Regions from separate parts of the Homo sapiens genome. Here regions 1, 2, 3, 4, 6 and 7 are each linked to region 5. The links are contacts of gene promoters, found by promoter capture Hi-C in blood cells and fetal thymus (Javierre and others, 2016). All regions are on one chromosome and are shown on one strand. Each heading gives the region's core, a stretch centred on a gene start or on the middle of the fragment in contact. The rest is flanking DNA. Distances are from core to core; before and after follow the strand shown. Region 1 overlaps LOC105373262 (a long non-coding RNA gene). Region 2 overlaps LOC105373262 (a long non-coding RNA gene). Region 3 overlaps SDCCAG8 (SHH signaling and ciliogenesis regulator SDCCAG8). Region 4 overlaps LOC105373262 (a long non-coding RNA gene). Region 5 holds the start of AKT3 (AKT serine/threonine kinase 3). Region 6 overlaps LOC105373262 (a long non-coding RNA gene). Region 7 overlaps SDCCAG8 (SHH signaling and ciliogenesis regulator SDCCAG8).

Evidence for each region. Contacts are between HindIII fragments. The CHiCAGO score rates a contact against its expected background, and 5 or more counts as called.
Region 1: a contact is called between a fragment that was not itself captured here and the fragment with the promoter of AKT3 in region 5, in 1 of 17 cell types (total B cells). The highest score is 6.2, in total B cells.
Region 2: a fragment that was not itself captured here is called in contact with the fragment with the promoter of AKT3 in region 5 in 2 of 17 cell types (monocytes and non-activated CD4 T cells); the score reaches 8.2 in monocytes.
Region 3: a contact is called between a fragment that was not itself captured here and the fragment with the promoter of AKT3 in region 5, in 1 of 17 cell types (endothelial precursors). The highest score is 6.5, in endothelial precursors.
Region 4: a contact is called between a fragment that was not itself captured here and the fragment with the promoter of AKT3 in region 5, in 2 of 17 cell types (M1 macrophages and monocytes). The highest score is 6.0, in M1 macrophages.
Region 6: a contact is called between a fragment that was not itself captured here and the fragment with the promoter of AKT3 in region 5, in 1 of 17 cell types (total B cells). The highest score is 6.8, in total B cells.
Region 7: a contact is called between a fragment that was not itself captured here and the fragment with the promoter of AKT3 in region 5, in 6 of 17 cell types (non-activated CD4 T cells, fetal thymus, erythroblasts and 3 more). The highest score is 7.1, in non-activated CD4 T cells.

The regions. Positions count from the first base shown.
Region 1 is chr1:244,230,111-244,232,810 of GRCh38, reverse strand. It overlaps LOC105373262 (a long non-coding RNA gene), which reads left to right. Exons shown (of 3, transcript XR_949343.3): 3 at 536-2,063. Among named protein-coding and RNA genes, the nearest start is that of SPMIP3, 120 kb to the left of the region's middle. The HindIII fragment of the contact is 4,760 bases long and covers 1-2,700 here.
Region 2 is chr1:244,308,887-244,311,586 of GRCh38, reverse strand. All of the region lies in intron 1 of LOC105373262 (a long non-coding RNA gene), which reads left to right. Among named protein-coding and RNA genes, the nearest start is that of SPMIP3, 42 kb to the left of the region's middle. The HindIII fragment of the contact is 3,025 bases long and covers 1-2,700 here.
Region 3 is chr1:243,411,518-243,414,217 of GRCh38, reverse strand. The region is part of intron 13 of SDCCAG8 (SHH signaling and ciliogenesis regulator SDCCAG8); the gene reads right to left. Among named protein-coding and RNA genes, the nearest start is that of MIR4677, 67 kb to the right of the region's middle. The HindIII fragment of the contact is 4,250 bases long and covers 1-2,700 here.
Region 4 is chr1:244,278,296-244,280,995 of GRCh38, reverse strand. The region is part of intron 1 of LOC105373262 (a long non-coding RNA gene); the gene reads left to right. Among named protein-coding and RNA genes, the nearest start is that of SPMIP3, 73 kb to the left of the region's middle. The HindIII fragment of the contact is 1,766 bases long and covers 535-2,300 here.
Region 5 is chr1:243,848,988-243,851,687 of GRCh38, reverse strand. AKT3 (AKT serine/threonine kinase 3) reads left to right here and starts at 1,445. Exons shown (of 14, transcript NM_005465.7): 1 at 1,445-1,648. RefSeq lists an enhancer at 2,036-2,536. The HindIII fragment of the contact is 10,171 bases long and covers 1-2,700 here.
Region 6 is chr1:244,249,211-244,251,910 of GRCh38, reverse strand. The region is part of intron 2 of LOC105373262 (a long non-coding RNA gene); the gene reads left to right. Among named protein-coding and RNA genes, the nearest start is that of SPMIP3, 100 kb to the left of the region's middle. The HindIII fragment of the contact is 4,130 bases long and covers 1-2,700 here.
Region 7 is chr1:243,350,536-243,353,235 of GRCh38, reverse strand. All of the region lies in intron 12 of SDCCAG8 (SHH signaling and ciliogenesis regulator SDCCAG8), which reads right to left. Among named protein-coding and RNA genes, the nearest start is that of MIR4677, 5.7 kb to the right of the region's middle. The HindIII fragment of the contact is 687 bases long and covers 1,002-1,688 here.

The sequences.
Region 1 (2,700 bases), core at 85-2,584, 380 kb before region 5:
GGACCTTTCACAAATTCACTAAATTTCACTTAATTTCCTGAACCTTGACTTTTTTCCCTGTAAATTGGGAGTAATAATAGAAACTACCACAAAAGGTTGTAGTGAGGATTGACTGAATAAATGTTACTTGATTGATTGATGAATAAACAGGATAACTTGTGTAAAGCACTTGGTTTTGATAGACAGGTGTCTCTTACATGTAATAACAATCTCCTATTTCCTGGCTAGTCCAAAACCCCAAGAAATTTGAGGTCTCACGGAGTTTGTGGTATTCAGGTCAGGTGGATATATTTGAGGTATGCTTTTCTATTTTGGATTTTATTTCCTCTTTTCTGTTCCACCATGGTAAATGCCTCCTAGCTGGTAGTGGGTGAAAATCTTTTATCCCACTTCTGGGGAAAGCCACCTTCTGGGGAAAGACCTTCTGTGAGTTAATATCCGGAAACAACTGGTTCCTTTCTTCTTGTCTCCTTCCCCTTCCCACCCTCTTTAGCACCTGTGAAATGTCCTATTTTTCCCCCTTTTCCATATGCAGGCTAATTGGTGACATCAACCAAAGCCCTGAAAGTGATTCTGGCAGAAAACGAACATGTCTCTGCGAAGCAGGTGAAGAGCCCGAGACTTTGGAATAGACACACTGGCAGCGACGGGGATGAGACCTCACCAGGGAGGAGGTGCTAAGCCCAACTGCAGGATGTCTCTGGGTGTCCTCCAGGCACCCCAGCTTTGAAGGCACCCCACCAACCCGGGATCCACAAACGTTTCCGCCAGATGTGCAGCCCTTGGAGCAAGTCGTGAAACAACTGCTTTGAAGATGAAGAGCCCTCGGAGCACGCTAAGTAGCTGTATTATTGTCGTGCAGTGTGTGTCACCCTGCGGAGGATTCAACTCCCAGCACTGTCACCGCTGGGGAATTAGTGAAAGGCAAACTCAGCCGGAAATGCCGAGTGCCAAAAAAGAGGAGCGAATAAAATGCTGGGGGTGGGAGGAAGGGGACGGTGGGTGCCTGAGCTTTGAAATTCTGCCACTGAAAGTTCTCTCCCATGGTTCCTTTTCCAACCCGCCCCGAGTGCAACAACTGGACCCGCCATGTGACAGGCGCTGCAGACGGATCGCGTTTCACACATGCAGCTGTAATATCTGGCACACAGGTGTTTGGTTCTGTGTTTGCCAGCTGCTCTGCAGCGCCCTGCTACAATGGATAGGGGTCGGGGGGAGGGGAACCCTCACACTTGTTGCTGCCAAAAGGGAGGAGGGAGCTGGAGATTCCTGCCCCCCGGCCAAGAGCTCAGCATTTGACTCTGCTTGGGTCTCCCCCAGTGCCTGCTTTAGAGGGTCCTGGGGCCTCTTCTCATGGGCTCACCCAGGACTCGGCTGTGGCTGGCTGGGAGGGCGAACAGGGCGTCTGGGAAACCTCCAAGCAAACTGGCCAGGGCCCCAGGAAGCCAGGTCCGGAGGCAGCGCACCCGGGGATAGGAGGCCACTGGGCTGTTGAGTCAGCTTCCAACTTCACCTCTGAGCAATTGTGAAACCTTGGCCAGGTTTCTTGCCCTGTCTGGTCTTAGTTTCCTAATCTATGAAATGGAGTATGTAACTCCTGATCCACCAGCCCTCGTCTGTGAGGACTCCATGAAGCACTCAGGGAAGCAGCGTTACTTTTGTTATTCCCACCTGGGGAAGGTGGGACGGGGCAGAAACTCACCGGGCTCCTGGGCCATATCCCTGGACCCCTGTCATTGAAGCCTGGCCCAGCTGTTCTGGGTCTGAGGCCCAGATATCACCAGTGTCCAGATATCACACAGATCATTGGTTTTCTGCTCTTTTTCCCTCCTCAGGGAGGAAGAGGCCTGGCCATTCAGGACAGTGAAGTCACCGAAGAAAGGTGGCAGCAGGGGAGACTGGGGGTGGACTCTCCAGCCCGTGCCCGCTGGAAGCCCCTCTCCTTTCCCTTCTTAGCACCTGCCGGATGGAGCGTCTATGCAGCTAGGACTGTTATATGGAGGGTTTTCTCCCGCCGTGGACTCTCTGGAGGCTATGGACTGTCTGCTTTGCCCATCATTCTGTCCCCAACACGTTGTCTGCATGAAGTGAAGATTTGATAACTGCCTGCTAAGGGAGCGAAGGAGTGAGTGGGTGGATGAGTGGGACGGTATTCTCACTGCCACAGCTGCTCCCAGCCCTATTTTAAGGACAGAGAATATGCATATTTAAAGGACAGATGCGTGTCTAATAATCCCAGCATGTTGGGAGGCTGAGGCAGGAGGATTGTTTGAGGCCAGCAGTTTGAGAGCAGCCTGGGAAACATAGTGAGACCTCCATCTCTGCCGCAAACAAAGAAAATTAGTCCAGCATAGTGGAGTGCACCTGTAATCTCAGCTCGTGGGGAGGCTGGGGCAGAAGGATGACTTGAGCCCAGGAGTTCAAAGCTGTTGTGAGCTGTTATCATGGCACTGCACTCCAGCCTGGGCAACAGAGCAAGACCTCATCTCTTAAAAGAAAAAAGATGGATGCATGATCACACATGACACGTCCAGCTCCACGTCACATGTCACTCCCCAGCCTCAGACCTATCCTTTGCATCCTCTCTCCACCCTTCTTCTGACCCCTTGTCCTGCTTGGCTCCCTGCTAATGTGCCCATGCCTCGCCTTCTCTTCCTACCTCCCCCTCCTGCCCCATCCCCCTGTTCCTTGTCTCTCCTG
Region 2 (2,700 bases), core at 201-2,700, 460 kb before region 5:
TGCATTTTACTTTATTTGATAGGAATAAAAAGGAAAGAAAGCTGAACGTGGTGGCTCATGCCTGTAATCCCAGCACCTTGTGAGGCTGAGGCAGGAGGATTGCTTGAGCCCACTAGTTTGAGATCCGCCTGGGCAATACAGTGAGCCCCTGTTTCTACAAAAAATTAAAAATTAGCCAGGTATGGTGGTGCACACCTGTAGTCCTAGCTACACGGGAGGCTGAGGTGAGAGGATTGCTTGAGCCCTTGAGGTCAAGGCTGCAGTGAGCCATGTTTGTGCCACTGCACTCCAGCCTGGGCAACAGAGTGAGACAGTGTCTCAAAAAGAAGGAGAAGGAGAAAGAAAGAGAAGGAGAAGGAGTGGAAGAGGAGGAGGAAGAGGGAAGAGGGAAAAAGGAAGAAGGAAGAAAGAGAAGAGAAAAGAAAACCAGGAAAGATGGAGTAAGAGTGATAAGACTAAATGTAACTCTAAAGTTGAATTTTTAAAAAAATCTGAAGTCATTCAACATACAGGGCAATGGGCAGTCCTCAGAACTATGCATGGATGTGGATTTCTCCAGAGTCAACAGTCCTAGCCCTGGGAGCTCAGCACTGGGTTCTTGGTTCTATGACATAGACAAGACTTCCAATCCTCCATTTGACTTGAACAAAGCCTCTCATGGTCACGACCAATTTCTAGATCAGCTCCCTCTGCAGAGGTATCTTATCCACCCCAAATCAACACTCAAGTCTCCTGAAGAGCAATGAAATGACAAAGAACAAAGCATTTAGATAAAAAGACTGGGAGCTCTCACTACTCATTCGAGGAGGGCCACCCCCAATCTGCAGGGACCCAGGGACAAAACAAGGTCCCTGTCTGCCAACAAGACAGTGGCAGAACCCGTGGATGTGCAAACATTTGAAATCTTGCCTTGTTCTCTCCCAAATGTTTCCCAATGAAAACCTTCAAATAATTTCAATAACAGGTTTAAAAAATCTACACAGGCCAGGCATGATGGCTCACGCCTGTAATCCCAGCACTTTGGGAGGCTGAGATGGGCGAATCATGAGGTCAAGAGATCGAGATCATCCTGGCCAAAATGGTGAAATCCCGTCTCTATTAAAAATACAAAAATTAGCCAGGCATGGTGGTGGGTGCCTGTAATCCCAGCTACTTGGGAGGCTGAGGCAGGAGGATTGCTTGAATCCAGGGAGTGGAGGTTGCAGTGAGCCGAGATTGCGCCACTGCACTCTAGCCTGGTGACAGAGCGAGACTCCATCTCAAAAAAAAAAAAACAACTACATAATTTTTTTGAAATAATTTATGTTTTTTTGAGACAGGGTCTCACTCTGTGTCACCCAGGCTGGAGTGCAGTGGCGCAATCATGGCTCACTGCAGCCTCAACCTCCTGGGCTCAGGTGATCCTTCCACCTCAGCTTCCCGAGTAGCTGGAACCACAGGCATAGGCCACCACACTTGGGTAATATATATATATATATATATATATATATATATATATATATATATATATATTTTGGTATTTTTTGTAGAGACGAGGTTTCACCATGTTGTCCAGGTTGGTCTCAAACTCCTGGGCTCAAGCAATCCTCGCACCTCAGCCTCCCAAAGTGCTGGGATTACAGAAATAAGCCACCACACCCAGCCTATCTTGAAATAGTTTTAAGTGTATAGAAAAGTTGCAAGAACAGTACTGTTAAATAAAATTTATGGGAGGCCATATGGTTTGGACTGAGCTCCTGTACTAGACCCAATGACCAAACCAAAACAGAGTCCCATATGTTGAAGTGCCATGTCCCCAAGCTGAAACTAAGTTGTTCATCTGACCTTCTGAGAAATCAGGAGTGAGAGAGATAATAGCCAAATCCCCAGACACTTTAGTTGGCATGACAAGGAAGCCTCCCTACTTTAATCTTTACAAGGAAAGTAAGTTTGAAACAACCAATCCACTTTTTGTTCTGTTTCTGCTTTCCTTAGCCCTTTTCTGTCTATAAAGCCAACCTCCTCTGCTCTGCTATATTAGTCTGTTCTCACACTGCTAATAAAGACATACCTGAGACTTGGTAATTTATAAAGAAAAAGAGGTTTAATGGACTCACAGTTCCACATGGCTGAGGAGGCCTCACCATCATGGCGCAAAGTAAAGGAGGAACAAAAGCACATCTTACATGGTGGCAGGCAAGAGAGTGTGTGCAGGGGGAGCTGCCCTTTATAAAACCATCAGATCTCATGAGACTTATTCACTATCACGAGAACAGCATGGGAAAACTCGCCCCCATGATTCAATTACCTCCCACTGGGTCCCTCCCACAACACGTGGGAATTATGGGAGCTACAATTCAAGATAAGATTTGGGTGGGGACACAGCCAAACCATATCATCTGCTTATTGGAGCACTCATTCTATTATATAGAATGAGGAATGAGGTGTAGCTGGATTTTAGAATCATATGTAAAAGCCAGTTAAGATCTTTAAACTAAATTTATTGTAATTTTGTCTTTCAACAGTACACAAAGAACTCTTGAATCCCCTTTTATCATTTTCTGAACCATTTGAGAGCAAGCTGCAATCATAAGATCCAGCACCTCTAAACACTCCAGAATATATTTTTAGATATAACCCTGTAATGGCTGAAAAGTGTTCCCCCCAAATTCACATCCTCCTGAAACCTCAGAATGTGACCTTATTTTGAAATAGGGTCAT
Region 3 (2,700 bases), core at 34-2,533, 440 kb after region 5:
CAGGCCTAACTCAAAATTCTTCCCCTCTCCTTCCTCTCTCCTGAATTAACTATTCTTCCCTCAATGACCTCAATATATGTTGTGTACATCGTACAAAGATAGTATTTATCACACTTTAGTTATTGTTTAACATGTCTGCTTCGTTTGTCATCTTTATCTCTCTATACCCTCAGCCCAGCCTCAGTGCTTGGCACACAGGAAGTGGGTGGTGAATATTTCATGATTGGATGTTGTTATACTCTTGTCATAGGGGAAAGGAAGGCTGCTATCTTAACGTGTAGCTGGAGAATCTGCTTAAGTCTTACGAGAGGAGGCAAAAACTTTTCAGACGTGTTAGAAAAAGGTGCTTAGAAGAGAATGGTTCTAATGGCTCTGCCAGCTGGAGACCGTGCTGCTAAAGGAGTCAGCTAAAAAAACAAAAAGCCCTGTCAGACCATCCCCAAGTCAGACCCCCTGCCGGGGCAGGAGCCAGAGATAGAAATCTGGGGCTCTGCAACCCCTAACAATTGGGTGACATAAATGCATTCTCCAACACCAATACCCATCTGAAAGTGAAAGGGGCACTATTAATAATTATACCAAGATAACAGTCACAACTGAAACTACCCATCACAAACTGGTACTTACAGTTCCCCAATGTAAAGGGGTTGTCAATCTCACCATCATTCTTTAGAATAAGCTGCCTAATTACTGATATTCTAAATTGACTATAGGTCAGGCACGGTGGCTCACATCTGTAATCCCAGCACTTTGGGAGGCCAAGGTGGGCAGATCACTTAAGGCCAGGAGTTAGAGATCAGCATGGCCAACAAGGCAAAACCCCATCTCTACTAAAAATACACAAATTAGCTGGGCGTGGTGGTGCATGCCTGTAATCCCAGCTACTTGGGAGGCTGAGGCATCAGAATCACTTCAACCTGAGAGGTAGAGGATGCAGCGAGCAGAGATTGTGCCACTGAACTCCAGCCTGAGTGATAGAGTGAGATTCTGTCTCAAAATAGATAAATAAAAATAAAAAATAAATTGACTATAGAAAAGAACTACTGTCATAATTGAAGTCCTTTTTATAAAATAAAACAATTTAAAAGACTTCTACCAACAAATGTTGAGTTACACATCAACTGATGTTTCTCGAATCCTTCCCCAAATTTCCCTCTATTTGGGAAACTATACATTATGTTTCATTGCCTAGAAACATGACATAGTCTTGCTTTCCAACCTCCTTTCCCCTTCCACTTTCCTATGTTGCCTTCTCTCCTCTCTTGCAGGTTCTGACTTGGTAGGCTTTTTATAAATTCCCAGAATGTTAGAACTAAAAGGGAACCTCAAATGTGTTTCATCAAACCCTCTCACTTTACAGTTGGAAAAAAAAAACCTACTTAAAAATCCCCAAGGGTCACAAAGAATTTGAAGTCTGCTTATAGGTTGCATAGTGAATGATTTAAAGGCAGAGGTAGGATTAAAATGTTTTTATTTGGGGAATCCTATTTTATAATACTCTAGAGCAGGGGTATGCAATCTTTTGGCTTCCCTGGGTCACACTGGGAGAATCGTCTTGGTCCACACATAAAATACACTAAAACTAATACTAATGATTGCTGATGAGCTGGGAAAAAAAAAAGGAAAAGAAAAGAAAAGAAAATCACACAAAAAAAATCTCATAATGTTTTAAGAAAGTTTACCAGTTTGTATCGGGCTGCATTCAAAGCTGTCCTGGGCCGCCAGTTGGACAGCTTACTCTGCTTGCGGCCTGGATGGTTTTGAATGCGGCCCAACACAAATTCATAAACTTCCTTAAAACATTATGAGATTTATGCACGGGCCTTTTTGTTTTTTCCTTTTTAGCTCATCAGCTATCATTAATATTAATGTCTTTTATGTGTGGCCCACAATTCTTCTTCCAGTGTGGCCCAGGGAAGCCAAAAGATCAGACACACTGCTCTAGAGGTAATACGATAATGGATTGAAAAAATTATAAAAAGCACGTAGGCATTCAAGGAGCAACTAGAGAAGAATGTAAATCAATGCATTAAGTATTTATCATAACTCTCTTATGTGAAAGGCACTCTGCTAGGCACTGGGTCAAATAAAGATAGATAAGACATGCTCCTTGCCCCTAGCAGGGAGTTCAAAATGGCCAAACAGAAAGTAGATGGCAAAATACTTCGTAAGAAAGGTATAAGGGGAAAATTTACCAAAGCATAACAAAATGAGAGTCAAATCCAGCTGGGTGTGAGAGCCTGGTGAAGGATGGTCAAGCCAGTCTCTCCAATTGGTTTGCTTTAATTCCCACTCAAAACACTGAGTAAAAAAGAATTTCTTGGTAGTTATGGGGCTGAAAGATTTATTCACAATCACTCAAAACGGGAAACAACTTAAACGTGCATCAACTGTTCAATGGATAAACTGTGGTATAGTCTAACCATGGCTAGGAAGGGTAGAAATAACAAGGAACAATGCCACATACAGCACTTGGCTGAACCTCAAAAGCAGTACACGTAGTTTAAAAAGCCAGACACCAAAGACATATATTATGATGTCATTCACAGGCCATTCAAGAAAAGTAAACACTAAGGGACAGAAAGTAGATCCGCGTTGCCAGGATTTGGAAGTAGGAGAGGGGTACCAGGGAGCAAAAGGGCACAAGGACATGTTTTGGGTGGATATAAATGTTCTTCTATGTTATGACTATGATCTTTC
Region 4 (2,700 bases), core at 168-2,667, 430 kb before region 5:
GCACTCCCACTCTTTAAAAGTCATGTTTATTTTCCTTGATTTTAAAATTACTCCACTCATTATGGAGCATTTGGAAATCACAGAGAAGAAAAAAAAAGTCACAAACTCTTATAATCCCACAAACTCTGGGGTCATCTATGTTAAAATTTTAGTCTTATTTTTAAGTCAAGAAAAGGGCACTTATAAAAAAAAAAGAACTAATACCAACAGTAATATTCTGAATTTTTTGTCTTTCCTTGACCTTATAGCAGAAGGTTTTACCCAAGTCATTAAATGTTCTTTGAAAACATAATTTTTAACGGCTGCATATTATTTCCTCATTTAGCTCACCCTTAATTCATGTAGCCGGATCACTGTTGTACCTTTAGGTTTCCAATTGTTCAATGTTATATGTCATTCTGTGATAAACACCCTTGTACACCAAATCCTGGGCGAATCTCCGAGAAACCCAGATGTCAGTTGAGATCATGACATTCCAGGTGACATTGTCTCAGAAGCTCCAATTCTGGTGGAAGCCACAGTCATCCTGAAGCTTTCTGCCAATTGATGGGGGCGTGGCCTGCTCAGGGCTGCCTTCTGCTCCTAGACCATGTCGATCCTGCCATAAAACGGAGCTCCTTCTTTGGATTTCACAACAGGAAATCACTCACAAGAAGCAGTACTGTGTTTAGAAGACACTGCTGAAGATTTTGGGGGTCCAGAGATGGTGCCACTTAGTGATCCTCTTCCTCCTTCCCATTTCTACTCTCCACTCTCTGGTCCTTCTCCTGAGTAATGCAGAGCGGTGACCGCATCCTGGGCAGTGGCAAGGCCGCTTGACAAGCAGACTCTTAAGCGTAGGGCTCATTTCCTACCCAATCATTGACTATAGCATCTTTTTCTCAGCAAAAAATTCGGATGCCAGCGGTTACGTTAATTCTCACACTTAGGAGAGATTATAGCATAGCAGGAGAATTACTAGGTCTAACAATATGAATACGAGACATTGAAAAATGTTTAAAACCAAGGATGAGAGATGTGTGGATAAGAAGAGAAATAACAGCACCATTCGTTTTGATGTTATTGTTTTAGAGACAGTGTCTTGCTCTGTTGCCCAGGCTGGAGGGCAGGGGAGCAATCATAGCCCACTGTTACCTTGGACTCATTCAAGCCTTCCATCTCAGCCTCCTGAGTAGCGAGGAGTATACCACCATGCCCAGCTATTTATTTATGTATTTATTTATTTATTTTTGAGATGGAGTTTCGCTCTTGTTGCCCAGGTCGGAGTGCAATGGCATGATGTCTGCTCACCACAACCTCCGCCTCCCAGGTTCAAGCAATCCTCCTGCCTCAGCCTCCTAAGTAGCTGGGATTACAGGCACGCCCCACCATGCCCAGCTAATTTTGTATTTTTAGTAGAAATGGGGTTTCTCCATGTTGGCCAGGCTGGTCTCGAACTCCCAACCTCAGGTGATCTGCCTGCCTCGGCCTCCCAAAGTGCTGGGACTACAGGCGTGAGCCACCGTGCCCAGCCCCAGCTATTTTTTTTATTTCTGTAGAGATGAGGCTTCGCTATGTTTTCTAGGCTGGCCTCCATCTCCCAAAGGGTTGGGACTATAGGATTGAGCACAGTTGTTTAATTGTTAACATTGCCAGACTCCAGGATCACCATTTTAATGTGAACAGCCAACTTAGCCCTAGGGGCTGGGCCCAGGAGTTACATTTACCTATTAACAACCTGAGAATTGTTCATTAGAAAGGGATTTATAGAAATAATGCTGCACACCTACAACCATCCGATCTTCAGCAAAGCTGAAAAAAACAAGGAATCAGGAAAGGACTCCTTGTTCTCCCAGCACTCTCCTTGTGCTGGGAGAACTAGCTAGCCATATGCAGAAGACTGAAACTAGACCCCAACCTCACACCATGTACAAAAATCAACTCAAGACGGATTAAAGGCTTAAATGTAAAACCTGAAACTATAAAAACCTTGGAAGATCACCTCAGAAATACCATTCTGGACATAGAACTTGGCAAAGATTTCATGACAAAGACATCAAAAGCGATTGTAACTGTATTAGCTCATTCTCACGCGGCTATGAAGAAATACCCGAGACTAGATAATTTAAATATAAAGAAAAGAGGTTTAATTGACTCATAGTTCCACAGGGCTGGGGAGGCCTCAGGAAACTTACAATCATGGCAGAAGGCACCTCTTCATAGAGCAGCAGGAGAGAGAATGAGTGCCAGTAGGGGAAATGCCAGACGCTTAGAAAACCATCAGATCCTGTGAGATCTCACTGACTCTCATGAGAAAAGCTTGGGGAAACCACACCCATGATTCACTTATTTCCACCTGGTCCAAATAATCCCCATTTGACACATGGGGATTATTACAATTCAAGGTGAGATTTGGGTAAGGACACAGAGCCGAGCCATATCAGTAACAACAAAAATTGACAAATGGGATATAATTAAACTAAAGAGTTTCTGCATAATGAAAGAAACTATCAACAGAGTAAATGGACAGCCTACAGAATGGAAGCAAATATTTGCAAACTATGCATTCAGCAGAGGTCTAATATCCAGAATCTGTAAGGAACTTACATTTACAAGCAAAAAACAAACAACTTCATTAAAAAATGGGCAAAGGACATGAGCAGACACTTTTAAAAAGAAGACCTCCATGTGGCCAACAATCATATGAAAAAATGCTCCACA
Region 5 (2,700 bases), core at 196-2,695:
AAGAGAGTTGTCAAGACATAGAAAAGCAGAGAATGAAGTGCATGTCAGGAGGAGGAACTCTTCTGCAGAAAGAAGCCACAGACATTAACAAAAATGTTGCAGTGGGAGAAAGTAACAGGTACATCAACAAGGCTAGAGCCACGTGGCGGGATAATAGGGATGCTGCCCAGGTGTTTCCAGAAGCGATAAAACTTGTAAACTTTTATAATTTTCTGAAGTGCGCTGCATGGTAAAATATGGTCATTGTGCAAAAAAGTTGTCCCCAATGCAGTCTCAGGAGTCACTGACTTCAAAATAAAGAAACGGTCTCTTCGTAGTAAATGTAGTACCTCGTGGCTTTCCCAAAGTCATTGAAAACGAATATCCCTAAAAAGGGTGTGATTTCAAGAGTGAATTACGATCCGCCCGCAATCTGTGTACCGTGTGTGGACGAATGCTTGCAGCGAGCGGTGCGGAAGGCTGTTCAGAGAGGTGTTTTTGGTCTGCCGTGGTCTCCTGGGATAGTCAGGAATGATTCTTGCTACGGGCTGACCCGGGTTCCCTCTTCCCCGAGGTGCAGGGGGTGGGGTCGGCTTCTGGACTGCTCCGCGCTCTCCGGTCCCTACCTCATTGGGCACCGCCCACTTCGTGGGCTTCCAGGTGCGAGCCCTCGCGCCGGGCCCATCTCCCCAAGGGGCCGCGGCGGACTGGAGGAGACGCCCGGGGCCTGGCGGCGCGCGCGTCCGCGGCCAGGGCGGGTGGGCGGATGCGCCGAGGAAGCGGCTGGGCGAGGAGCCTCCGCTCCCGGGCCTCGGGTGCCCGCCAAGGGCCACGCGGGCGAGGGGGAAACCCAGAACTTCCCGCCCGGGAGCGACTGCCCCCGCTCCCGGCTCTGGCTGGCTAGGGGGATGTTCTCGCGAGAGGAGAGGGGGCGCGGGGCACCGCTGGTTTGGGGGCGCGGGGAAGCCTGAGGACGAGGGCCGGGCAGGGAGGGGAGCAGAGGCGGCGGGCAGGGCCGGGGACGCGGGGAAGCCGCTCCCGCCAGTCGCCGAGAGCCAGCCCCTGACGTCAGGAGTTTTCCTCAAAGTCAACAACAAGCCCCGCGGCGACGGCGAGAACCGATCGGCGGCGGCCCCGAGCGGGAGGAAGGAGGGGGCGGGGAGGCGGCGGGGGGTCCCCTCAGCGAGGCGCAGCCCGGGAGGAGGCCGCAGAACCCCTCCCCGCGCCGGGCGCGCCCCGGGGCCCAGAGCCGCCGCCCCGCCGGCGTGACCCGGCCCCCGCCCGAGCGGTGTTTTCTGGTGATGAATTTGTAGCCGATATCCGATTCCCATGTAGAGTCTCCGCCTCCTCCTCTCCCCGCCGCCGCCCTCTCTCCTCCCTCCCCCTCCCGCCGCCGCCGCCGCCGCCGCCGCCTCCCGCTCCAGCTCCGCGGCCCGGCCCGGCCGGCTCCCTCCCTCCCTCCCCTGCAGCCCTTCGCTTGCCCTCCCGCCGGCCGCACCGGGCTCCAGGAGGCCAGAGGCTCTGTGGGGTGGGGGGAGGACAGGAGGGGAGGAGGAGGGAGGGGGGACCCCCGAGTCGCCCCCTCTCCTCCCCCCGCCCCCCCCCGGCTCCATCCTCCGCCGCCGCCCGAGCAGCTGCGGGGCCGCCACCGCCGCCGCCGCCGTTGCAGGTAACAGCCACCGCCCCCAACTCTAGCCCCCTCCCCGCCTGGCCTCCACTCCCTCCGGGCCCCGGGCCCCGGTCCGCCCTCCCTGCCTCCCTCAGGCGGGGGATGGCGGCGGGGTGGGGTGAGGCGGGGGCTTCTGGGTTGTCACCGCGCCGGGGGCGTGGGCGGGGGCTGGGTCACCGGAGGCTTCGGGTGTGGGTGTGGAGGCCGGGGGATGCCCAGCGCGGTTGACACCGACACCCCCCGCTTTCCGGGGAAAGCTGGGGGGCGGCGGTGCGCAGCGGGCCGGGGGAGGGGTGTTCCCGGCCTAGCGGTACCGTCTGTGTCTGGGCTGCCCCGGCCCGGCGCCTGCTGTCTGCGCAACTCTCGCTCCTTCCCCTCGCCCCTCCCCGCCCGGGCCGCGCGGCGTGGGGAGGGGGCGCCCGCCTGGACCGGGGGCGGCGGCGAGGTTATATAACGCGTGGAGCGCCGGTGTCAGTGTGTTTGGGTTGGGGGGAGGGAGCCGTCTGCCGCGCGCCCTGGCGCTGAGGCTGTCTGCGCGTGGGGTGGGGTGAAGGCGAGGATGCACAGGCGTCCCCGGGGTCTCCTTCCTTCCCCCACCCTTCCCCGCCACTGGCGCGCAGGAAAAGACGGCACTGGTGGGGTGGGGGGGGGGGTGTGTGTGTGGGAGGTGGGTAACGTGCTTGTCTGTGTTTTTAATAGTAGTGGGGTTTTGATCCGCTTGGGAGTTGTGTGCTAAGAATAGAAATGTGCGGAAGATGCTGGGTTTGGCTGATCCAGTGATGCTGTCGCTGCTGGCGGCGGCGGCAGCTCTGGCTGCAAGTAAACAGACCAGCCTCTTCCTTGTCCACCTCCTCCGGCGCATCGGTCCGCATCAGCCATGATGCCGGTGGGGCCCTTCAGAGCCCAAAGTTGAAGCCTAGCTGGTTGCTGTGTTGACCCTGACGCCGAGGCGGGGTCACCATCCCTTGTTTGGGATTTCCCGGGAATCTACAGTTAGCCTAGAGATAAAGAATCTCGTTGGGGCCAGGTTTTTCCAATACCGGTATTTACTG
Region 6 (2,700 bases), core at 110-2,609, 400 kb before region 5:
CACTTATTAGATGCCTGATGTTGAGTGGCTACATAACTTTAGTCTCCTCAACTACAAAATAGGGTTAGTGATAGGTTGGTTATGAGGATTACACAAGAAAGTGTACAGGAAGTAAGGAGGTAGAGGTTGTGTCATTTTCCTAATCATATTCTGAGCTCTTGGCCCAGCACTTAACCAAATGTTAAAGCAGTTAGCTCTGCTCAGAACATGGCAAGCACTTAATCAATAGGAGCTATTATTATTATTATTTAGTGTCTATAATAAAGTTTTATTAGAACATAGCCATACCCATTTGTTCATACATTGCTACAACAGCAAAATTGAGTATTTACAAGAGATCATATGGCCTGCAAAGCCAAAATATTTATTACAGGTTGAGTACCCCTAATTTGAAAATCCAAAATCTGAAGTGCTCCAAAATTCAAAACTTTTTAAGTGCTGACATGGTGCTCAAAAGAAATGCTCATTGGAGCATTTTGAATTTTAGATTTTTAGATTAGGAATGGTGAACCAGTATAGATTGCAAATATTCCAAAAATCCCCAAAAATTCAAAATCCAAAACACTTCCGGTCCAAAACATTTCAGATAAAGGATACCCTTGTCTGGTCCTTTATGCAAAACATTTACCCCAGTTCTATCTGACAACTTGGAGTTTTCCTTTGTGTTTAAAGGTTAAAACAGGAAAACAGGATGTGAATAGTGAGGTATAATATTTTTGTTTCATAAGTGTAAATTTTAGTTCATACATGAACATTTTTTCTAATTTTGAATTGTATATCTAAACTTCAAAGTTATTCTTCTTGGCCAGGCGTGTGGCTCACGCCTGTAATCCCAGCACTTTGGGAGGCCGAGGCAGGTGGATCACCTGAGGTCAGGAGTTTGAGACCAGCCTGGCCAACATGGCGAAGCCCTGTCTCTACTAAAAATACAAAAACGAGCTGGGCGCGATGGCAGGCGCCTATAGTCCCAGCTACTTGGGAGGCTGAGGCAGGAGAATTGCTTGAATCAGGGAGGCAGAGGTTGCAGTGAGCCAAGATCCTGCCACTGCACTCCAGCCTGGCAAACAGAGCGAGACTCTGTCTCAAAACAAAACAAAAAAAACGACAAAAAAGAAAGTTATTCTTCTCTTTTGTTTGAAAACAACAACAGCAACTAATGATTAATACTGCTGTACATTGTATTCTTGTACTAGGGCTGCCATAACAAGACTGAGTGGCCTAAACAACAGTAATAGAAGCTATTTACTATTCCTGAACGGTTGTTTGATTTTGTATGGTGCCTTCCCTCAAGATGCTGCTTAGTAAGCGCACGCTCTCCATTCCCATGGCATGAATATCAATTAACATTACTTTAGTCTTGAGAATCTTATGACGTTTCTTTCTCGAGATAATTGGAGACATCCTTAGGTTTTGGAGAAATGTGGAGTCCAGAAAGAATTTACAATTACAATATACATTTATTGGTCTTGATCACATTAATAAGAAGGGACTGCCACTCCCCATTCATTTTTTCAGGTTCCCACGGCTCCTCTTGTAATATCTCTTTCTGTGCACAACCAAACAGGACTTGGGGGACTTGAGTTAGGGATTCCTCAAGAATTTTGGAAGTAGGTTTATGTTCACACACAAGGATTTGTATTCCTGGTTTGGGTTCATTTTTCCTCCATTCATTCAGCACAGTTGTTGGGAACCTTGTCTCTGGAAGGCAGGGTGCCATGCGCTGCAGGTGAGAAAAAAAAAAGCCAGCCATCCCATTACTGGGTATATACCCAAAGGATTATAAATCGTGCTGCTATAAAGACACATGCACACGTATGTTTATTGCGGCACTATTCACAATAGCAAAGACTTGGAACCAACCCAAATGTCCAACAACGATAGACTGGATTAAGAAAATGTGGCACATATACACCATGGAATACTATGCAGCCATAAAAAATGATGAGTTCATGTCCTTTGTAGGGACATGGATGAAGCTGGAAACCATCATTCTCAGCAAAGTATCGCAAGGACAAAAAACCAAACACCGCATGTTCTCACTCATAGGTGGGAATTGAACAATGAGAACACTTGGACACAGGAAGGGGAACATCACACACCGGGGGCTGTTGTGGGGTGGGGGGAGGGGGAGGGATAGCATTAGGTGATATACCTGTTAAATGATGAGTTAATGGGTGCAGCACACCAACATGGCACATGTATACATATGTAACAAACCTGCATATTGTGCACATGTACCCTAAAACTTAAAGTATAATAATAATTTTAAAAAAAGCCAGTTTTACATAATGAGCTTCTCCTCCATGCCTCTACCTTAACCCAGTTCCGTGGCCATGCTTGGGAACTAGCATTCAGGGTCCTACCCATCTTCCCTGGACTCGGCACAGTCTCCCTTCTTCAAAACTTCCCCAACTGCCTGAAAGCCAATGATTCTACAATCTGTATCTTTAGTCCTAAACTCCTTTCCCAACCAATGACTCAAATGCTCAAGTCTTGGGGAGAAATTCACAGGATGTTGGCTGCGCTTCCATCTCAGGTGTCTTTTGTGTATCTTCTTTGTGAACGTCAAACCAGTTTGGTTTCACGAGAATTTTTGCAGGGCTGTGAAGATCGAGGTTGGGTGTGTTTGTTTATTGGTTTCCTCACCTGCAGTTTTTCCTGAGTGTGCTTTGGACACTTCTTTAGTGATTTGCCCAAGCA
Region 7 (2,700 bases), core at 96-2,595, 500 kb after region 5:
TACAGGCATGAGCCACCACGGCTGGCCCTAGGCAACATTCTAACCACCCTGCAAGGATGTTATCTTTCCCCTCCCAAATTCCCATGCCTTTTGCATTTTGCTGATAGCTACTATGTTCTCTTTGACATATATTTATTGGCATACCTGGTTTACATACTCCTTTCTGACAGAAATTGATTATAGCTAAGTAGAGTGCACATAATATATGGTTATTGAATTAAAGCAACATATGAAGTTTAGGGCAAAAGGGCTCTAAATCTGTCATAGTGGCTGTTCTCAAAATCTAACTTACTATCATTTTCCCTTACAGGTATATGTAAATGGCCACAGTAAAGTGATCACTATGAAGAATAAGGAGCAACACAGAAAAAATGCTTAAGATAATGTTAAATGAAAAAAGCAAAAACCAAAACTAGAATCTATTTATATTTGCAAATATTATAGATGCATATGTACAAAAAGTGGAAGGTAAAACAGAAAAATAAAAACAATTTACACTGTTTGGGTGATGGAACTACTGGCTTCTGTTAATGTGCTTATGTTTATACAATAAATTTTTTTAAATGTATGCATATGTAGTAATTAGTGATATTTATATTGGATATAGGTACTAATATTTCTGGACTATAAACAAAAAGAAAGCATATGTAGTTGTCTTATGTCTAATGTCTCTCAGCTTGTTGGGCTGCATGGACACATTTAAAGAACTGTCACTACCTGGTAGCTACCAGAACTGCAGAGTTGGTACCTGAGAAGGCACTTTGCAAGTTGGCAGTTGGCTGGTAAGTCAACTTTTACAGTCAAAACAAGCATGCAAAAAAATGTTCAAAGAACCAAAACACATGTCATCCACTGAAACTGAAAATATAGCAAACATTATATTTCTTCAGGGCACACAGGAATATTCTTAGAGTCCAGTTTACAGTTTTCTATTCCCATCCAAAGGCAAATATTTATTTCTTAATGTTTCTCCTATAAGGCATATTATTTCTAAGAAAGCTTGTTTTATTTCCTATTTGTACTCTTATCTTCTAAATATACCTAAATTGCTATTTTCAGATGTGTTGTCTCTGCTTATACATTTGATTTTGTAAAATAAATTATTATGTTAAACAGCATTATCATCTTTGTTGGAAAATCAAATAACAAGCAGAAATTAATAGATTCTTTTTTTGAGCATGTTAATTGAAAAGTCAGTGTTTCTATGAATGAGGTATACATACCCTGCCTCAGAAAACAACTGCCTAAATCATTAACAACGTGACTAAATGCTAAATGCCCCAATGATCTCCAACTCGGTATTATTCACTGGATTGATTTGGAACTGCTTCTTTATGCAGAAAAATTGAATTATATTTTTTTACTGCTAATTTTGTGATTTTACCAACATGATGATTTTAGATGAAGAAAGTAATTTGGCACAGCATTTTAGAAAAATAAGTTCAATCAATAACTTAGACTTTTATTAAATGAACATATTTTAAATTATTTGTATAATCCAATAAATCCTACTTGTCCCATTCAAGCATCATCCAGGACAAGAACAAAAGAGGCTGATTTATTAGACATATGTTAGGCTGAAGAATTTTCTCAGAATTCTTGGTTAGGCTGCGATAAGAACACAAATTTCTCTAAGTATGCTGAACAATGCTTTAGGGCATACTTAGAGAAGATGCTATAAAAAAGCTTTATTGCATCACACACATGGAACCAGATTCTCCCTCTCATGGGCTGTAGCCAGCATGAAGTTCACACTACATTAATTTGCACTTGTCGATATGCTGCTTTGCAAGTATTCTTAAGGCATGTTCTAATGTGTACTCTGACTCCTCAACTAGAATATAAACTCCCTAAGGGTAGGACCTGGGTCTCCTAGTTATTACCCCCACAGTGTCTAGCATACTGGTCTGGGTAAGCCAAGCCCTCTGGAACTGCTGTTGTCTTCGTAGGGAGCAGGGACAAGAATGTGCTAAGTCTACAGACTGAAAGAGGGTGTGAAGAATACTGGAGAGCAACTCTGTCATCACCAGGACCGAGTGATTACATGTACCAAAGGCAGGCCCAAATGGCCCCTCTCCCAGTCATTTTGTAGAGGGAGAAGTGAGACTGCAGGTGGTAGTTGGATAAGTTTCTGAAGTCTGGCTCTTGAGAAGTCATCCATTATCTTAGCATATTCCCCAAAAACCTTCTGAAAAAGAGTACACAGCTTTAAAGACACAAAGCAGAGAATAGAACGGAACAGGATTTTACTTTAATCTGTAAGTGCTAGGTTTCAAGTAGAAAAGACTAACACTGCTGTTACCCACTTTTAAAAGATACAACGATGTCTTTCTAGGACGCTTCCAGAATCAAATAGAAGACTGGACCTCAGAGGTCCATGAGCTGGGTCTTCAGGTAAATCATATTGCTGCTACTATTTAAAACTAAAACTTCCAGGGAAAAGGTTCCATGGCCTGTTGCAGCAATTTCAATCTCCTTACTGTCAGAAAATTCTTGTTTCAGGCTATTGTGATTTGTAGTTGCTGTAGTTAAATCCCTTTGTTCTTGTTCTGTCCATATTGAAGACTCAAATCAGGTGTTTAACTTTTTCCTTGAAATAATTTGTCAAATCCTTGAAGATGTGAAGCAATGTTGAAGTCTTCTCTAAGTAAAAGGTACAATTCTTCAACTTTTCTTTATTGCTTTTATATTTCTCTAACT